Linked DNA regions of Homo sapiens: region 2 is linked to region 1. Evidence: promoter capture Hi-C in 16 types of primary human blood cells and fetal thymus (Javierre and others, 2016). All regions are on one chromosome and are shown on one strand. The core of a region is centred on a gene start or on the middle of the fragment in contact, and the rest is flanking DNA. Distances in the headings are between cores, read along the strand shown. Region 1 holds the start of LIN7A (lin-7 cell polarity scaffold A). Region 2 overlaps LIN7A (lin-7 cell polarity scaffold A).

What was found. Contacts are between HindIII fragments. The CHiCAGO score rates a contact against its expected background, and 5 or more counts as called.
Region 2: a fragment that was not itself captured here is called in contact with the fragment with the promoter of LIN7A in region 1 in 1 of 17 cell types (neutrophils); the score reaches 6.1 in neutrophils.

Annotation. Positions count from the first base shown.
Region 1 is chr12:80,936,379-80,939,390 of GRCh38, forward strand. It overlaps LIN7A (lin-7 cell polarity scaffold A), which reads right to left and starts at 1,556. Exons shown (of 6, transcript NM_004664.4): 1 at 1,263-1,556. The coding sequence starts at 1,344. RefSeq lists a silencer at 684-893. The HindIII fragment of the contact is 1,862 bases long and covers 1,460-3,012 here.
Region 2 is chr12:80,799,009-80,802,020 of GRCh38, forward strand. The region is part of intron 5 of LIN7A (lin-7 cell polarity scaffold A); the gene reads right to left. Among named protein-coding and RNA genes, the nearest start is that of MIR617, 32 kb to the right of the region's middle. The HindIII fragment of the contact is 2,482 bases long and covers 281-2,762 here.

The sequences.
Region 1 (3,012 bases), core at 306-2,805:
CAAATTAAAAACCTCAAACTGAGTTCACTGGCTTTGTTACTGTACTCTCAGCAGGATGTTCTTTTGCCTTGCCCATCGTTCAGTTTAATCCTCTAGAAAGAAAATTTTTAGAGGTACATCGGACTAAATCATTTTCTTCTGAGTACACCATTTCCAAATGGCCGCCCAGGGTCCTAAATCCGGCGGCTGCGGAGAGGGACTAGAGGGTGTCCTCCTCTGCAGAGCCGTAGGACTCGAGCGCCTTCATCACTGGACGCTGGAGCCAGGAAGGAAACCCACACACTCAGGGACAGGTATAACCCCACAGGGGTGCACCAGTGAGGCCCCGATCGCAGCGGAGGACTCCATCCCTGAGCTTGTGAGGGCGTCCTGGGGAGGAAGCGAACACTTTCCCCGTTCAAGTCAGAGAGCAGGACTCACTGGGTGGCAGGTCAGAAGTTGAATTTTAACCCGACCTGCGCTTTGTCCCCGCGCCTTCCGCAGCCTGGGCGCCGCGGTGGCACCGAGCTGGGAGAGGACACGAGAGGCTGGCGCGGGAGAAGCCGAGAGTTGCTATCGACCGGGAGCTGCCGGCGGCGGGAGCAGACGCGACCCTCGCCGCTTTCGATCTCGAAGCCGCGGAGAGCCGATCTCGGCTGCTGGGGCTCGGCTCCCCGCGCTCTGCCTTGCCCTTTCGGCAGAGGGCAGCTCCCTGCCTGCTGCAGCCCCGCCACTGTGCGCCCGGCAGCCCAGGGGTGCGCCCAGCCCGCCCCCCGAGTGGCCGCCGGGACTCCAGCAGTTGGACCGACCCTCGCCCTCCGGCGCCTGGACAAACTTCCTTCCTCCCGGGCCCCTGCGCCAAGCAAGCTGACAGGCGGCTCCCTCGCCGGTCTCCTCTGGGCTCTGGCCGGGCGAGCTTGCTCTCTGCCCCTCTCCAACCCCGAGCCCCTGGCGCCTATAGCCGTCCCCGCGCAGCGGCTCCAACAAAGCCAGAGGACCGGAGACGACCCGGCGAGGGGCTGGGAGTGGCAGCGGGGACCCCAGAGCCAGAAGGAGGCGTCCCCTCGGCGGGGCGAGTACAGTGGGAAGGGGCAGCGGGAACGTAGCGGGGAGAGAAAGGGGAAGAAAGTGTTCTGTTCTCGGCGCGAACGCCTTCCTGGCTCGTCCTCGTTCCCCTTCTCCTCCTGCCTGAGCGCGTCCCATGTCCCGTTGGGAATTGGCAGGCGGGGAAGGGAGGAGGGGAGAGGGGACGCGGTGGCCTGGCGAGCGAGCCGCTCCCTTACCTCTGTCCAGGGTGAGCGGCTGGACCACTGTCAATGTCGCCATGTCTGCCGTGGGAGCCGAAGTGACGCTCGGCTTCAGCATCAGCAACCGCTCGTAGTGAGAAAAAAAGGAGGAGATTGGGGGCGGGGGTGGAGAGGGAAGACGGAAAGGAGGGGGAGGAGGGGGAAGGAAGGAAGGTGGTGGTGGTGGAGAAGAAAGCTTGGGTGGGTTGGTAGCCAGATGGAGACGCAACTGTTCCGCGGCGGCAGATCTTCAGTTGCGGTGCGGAGCTGAGCAGGTATCCGAGAGCGACTGCATCGCCGGGCTCTGGGAGGGAAGGCTCTGCCCTAGAACTTTGCTATTCCACCCCCAGGAGCGCTGGGTGGGTGTAGCTGGCGGGTTGCTTCCTTTCAACTTTCCACTCTAATAAAATGGTCAGAATATACGTGTGTGCATGCGGGTGCGTGTGTGTATAAGGGGAAGAGAGAGGATGGAAAGGGGATATGGGGAAGGGAGTGGGAGATGAGTTTTCTCAGATTAAGAGAAATTGCCAATCCAATAATCCCATCCCCTTTAGAGAGAAAATGCTTCCATTATCAGAAATGTTTGGGATGTAATTACATTTGCAGTTAATTTCTGTTGAAGTTTTTCGGAATGTTGACCTATAACGGCATATAAAGATAACTGACTAAAGGCCAGCGTTCCATCAGTAGATGTTCATTTAGGACCTGAGTATATTGCCTGGAGAAAAAAAAAAAAAAAGGCAAACCTCTTAAAAGTGCTTCAAAATAAAAAACGTGTAGGTAAGTTTCTATCGCTAAGTTTTTCTTTTTCAAGCCACTGTTAATACATTACCAATTCAGTAAATGTAGCTTAGAAACAAGTACAGTGTTCAGATTTTCTCCGAATTTTTTACATACCACATCCTGTAAACATGCCCCACTCCCCCTCACCCACCCAGCAACAAAAACTTTGCTCTTAATGTCCAAACTGATTTTGGTTGTCTATGACTACGTTTGAAAAATATGTACCTAGCACTTTTCATGTTGATTTCTAACCAGTGGTTCAGAGATGCCACTTATCGATTGATTAACATATATGCCAGGAATTGAGATAGAAGAGTTACATTGCCTTGTGCCACGCCTTGATTTAGGAGTTCAATTTAGTCTCCGACTTCCTGTAGCCTGTAATCTAGTGGGAGATGGTGTTATTAAAAACCTGACTTTAGAGTCAGTTGATCAGGATTAAATTACGAGAGCCTTCAAATACTGGCTGTGACCTCTTCGCCCCAATAAAAAGGCTACTTTCACTATCTTGTCATAGTAGGGATTCATTTCCTGACTACGAAATCAAGAAACATAAAGAAACCTTCTATAAGCTGAATAGGGGTGACTGTGGGTGCAGGATTGGAAATGACAAAGCTGCCTCCATCTTGTTTCCTGTGACAGAGCTGAATTGTTTGGGCTAACAATAAACTCTAAAAGGCAGATACTGTTTTATAGCAAAATATTTGCATATAATTGATGCCATTTTCTTCTGATTACAGATAGGATTTCTGAAGGTCTTTTTCATTTTATAGTCTACAATTGAATTTTAAAAAACAACATTTCACCAATGTGGGAAAGCCAAAGATGATTGGCCATATATAGACTTAACAGACCCTAAGAACAAACCTAAAATAGTAGTTCGATATGTTTATTTTTATTTAGTATTTAAGAAAGAATGCTGATCTTGACATTTGAGTCTTAGTCATGTACTCTTCGGAAGTCA
Region 2 (3,012 bases), core at 272-2,771, 140 kb before region 1:
GGTGTGAGCCACCGTGCCTGGCCTAGAGGCTGAGTTCTTAATGAATTAAATGATAATATAACTACATGTCCTGAAGGAATGGGACTCAGAACAGGTGAATTTTAGTAAGTCTTGGATCTCTTCATCTATCCAGGGCAGGAGTCAGCCTGAGAGAGAGCACTGGGCATTCAACATGTGGGCCACTGACATACCTGTTGGGAAGAACCAGCTGCAACAAATGTTAGTATTGCCCTCAGTCATGATTTATAATTTAACTGATTAACAATTTATTTTTAAGAAAAGCTTCTTTTCCATATTAGTGTGTCTTGTTGATCAAATTGCCTACTAACTCTTAAAAGAGCCATTGTGGTAGGCAGAATAGTGCCTCCTCGTCCACTAAATGTTAAGTCCACATCCTAATCTCCATAAACTATAAATATGTTTGATTACATGATAAAGGGCAGTTAAGGTTGTAAATGAAATTAAGGTTGCTAAGAAGCCTATGTTAAAATAGGGAAATAACCCTGGATTATTTAGTTCAATCCAATGTAATTAAAAGTGGAAGAGGGATGAGTCAAAGAAAAAAAATCACAAGAGAAATTTAAGAATATTTTGAACCAAGTAAAAATAAAAAATAAAAATGTTTTGATAAGTTGTGGGAACCAAAAAATCAATCATCTATGCTTCTTCCTTAGGAAACTAGAAAAAGGGCAAATTATATCCAAAGTAAGCAGAAGAAAACAAATAATAAACATTAATGAAGATTAATTTTTCATTAATAAAAATTAATGTGGAAGAAATCAATGAAATTGAAAATAGGAAATTAATAGAGAAAATCAATGAAATCAAAAGCTGATTATTTAAAATGATCAATAAAAACCAAGCACTGTGGTGCATGCCTGTAGTCCCAGCTACTTAGGAGACTGAGATGGAAGAACTATGTGAGCCCAGGAATTTAAGTCCAGCCTAGGCAACATAGCAAGACCCTTCATCTCGAAAAAAATAAAATAAAAAGACGGATAAAATCAATAAACTTCTAGCCAAGCTAACAAAAAGGAAGAGAAGACACAAATTATTACTTCTATTAGAAATGAAAGTGGTCACATCACTACAAATACCATGGACATTAAAAGCATAGTAAAAAAATACTATGAACAACTTTATATCCACCATTTTGATAACCTAGATGAAATGGACAATTCCTTGAAAGACACAGTCTGGGCCGGGTACGGTGGCTCACACCTGTAATCCCAGCATTTTGGGAGGCCGAGGCTGGCGGATCATCTGAGGTCGGGAGTTTGAGACCAGTCTGACCAACATGGAGAAAACTGGTCTCTACTAAAAATACAAAATTAGCTGGGTGTGGTGGCGCATGCCTCTAATCCCAACTACTCGGAAGGCTGAGGCAGGAGAATTGCTTGAACCCGGGAGGTGGAGGTTGCAGTGAGCTGCGATCGTGCCATTGCACTCCAGCCTGGGCAGCAAGAGTGAAACTCCGTCTCAAAAAAAAAAAAAAAAAAAAAAAAAAAAAAGACACAATCTGCTAAAACTCACATGAGAAGAAATAGACAATTTGAATAGGTCTATATTTATAAAAGAAATCGAATCAATACTTAGTAGCCTTCCAAAGCAGGAAGCACCCGACCCTGATAGGTTCACTGGAGAATTCTACCAAAATTTAAGAAATAAGTTATACCAATTGTCTATAATTGCTTTCAGCATATCAGATAGAAGCAGAGCGAATATTTCCTAACTCATTCTATATGGCCAGCATTACATTAATACCAAAGCCAGACGAAGACACTAGAAGAAAAAAAAACCAACTACAGACCAATATCTCTCAAGAACATAAATTTAAAAACCCTCAACAAAAGTTAGCAAATCAAATCCAACAAGATTTAAAAATGTTAATGACCTTAATGTCCATTCAGAAGAGATTGATTATTGTATACCTAGAAATTAAAACTTTACACAGATATTTAAAATGTAGACCTAAGTCTACTAATGTTAACCATATTGTTTAATTTTTAAAAATCAGGTTATAATTTAGCATGTAAAATATGAGTGAAAATAAGCATATATATATATATATAAACATACATATAAACATACATATATAGAAATAACATTTCTGGAGAAAAAACTGTGTACTAAAATGAAGTGAGATTATAGCTGAAAAGTTAATTTATTCTTTATACTTCTCTACTGTCTAAAAATTTTGCAATGAAAAAGTGTCACTTTCATACACAAACATCAAATGTAAATCAATAGAAATAAATTAACAGTTTTGCAAGCACCAAGACAACAACAAAAGTGAAAGAGGGGGACAGAAAACAGCGTTGTGATGAAGGCAGAGGTCAGAGAAATGCAATGTGAGAAGGATTCCACTACCGCTACTCGTTTTGAAGATGGAGGAAGGGCCCAGGAAGCAATGAATTTTCCCCTAGAGCCTCCTAAAGCCCAGTAAAACTGTGTTGGACTTCTATCCTACAGAATTACAAGATATATTTTTAAAATTGTATATTCAATTGGCAAATAATAATTGTATACATTTGTGATGTACAAATTTGTGATGTACAAATAAATTTGTGATGTATAAATATATTGAATTGATGTTTTGATATGTTTAAAATGTGAAATGATTAAACCAGATAAAATAATTAACACATTTTATCACCACACATACTTATTTTTTGTGGTGGAAATATTTAAAAGCTATCCTTTTAACAATTTTGAAATAGATATTATTATTTAACTCATCATTCTGTGCAATAGATCACTAAAGCTTATTCCTCCTGTCTAACTGAAACTTTATACCCTTTGGTCAACTTCTCCCCTTTCTTTCCCCGATCACCCTTCTCCTCTACCTCTGATAATCACTATTCTACTCTCTACTTCTATGAGTCTAACTTTTTTTTTTTTTTTTTGAGACAGTGTCTTCCTCCGTTGCCCAAGCTGGAGTGCAGTGGTGCGATCTCGGCTCACTGCAACCTCCACCTCCTGGGTTCAATCTATTCTTTTGCCTCAGCCTCC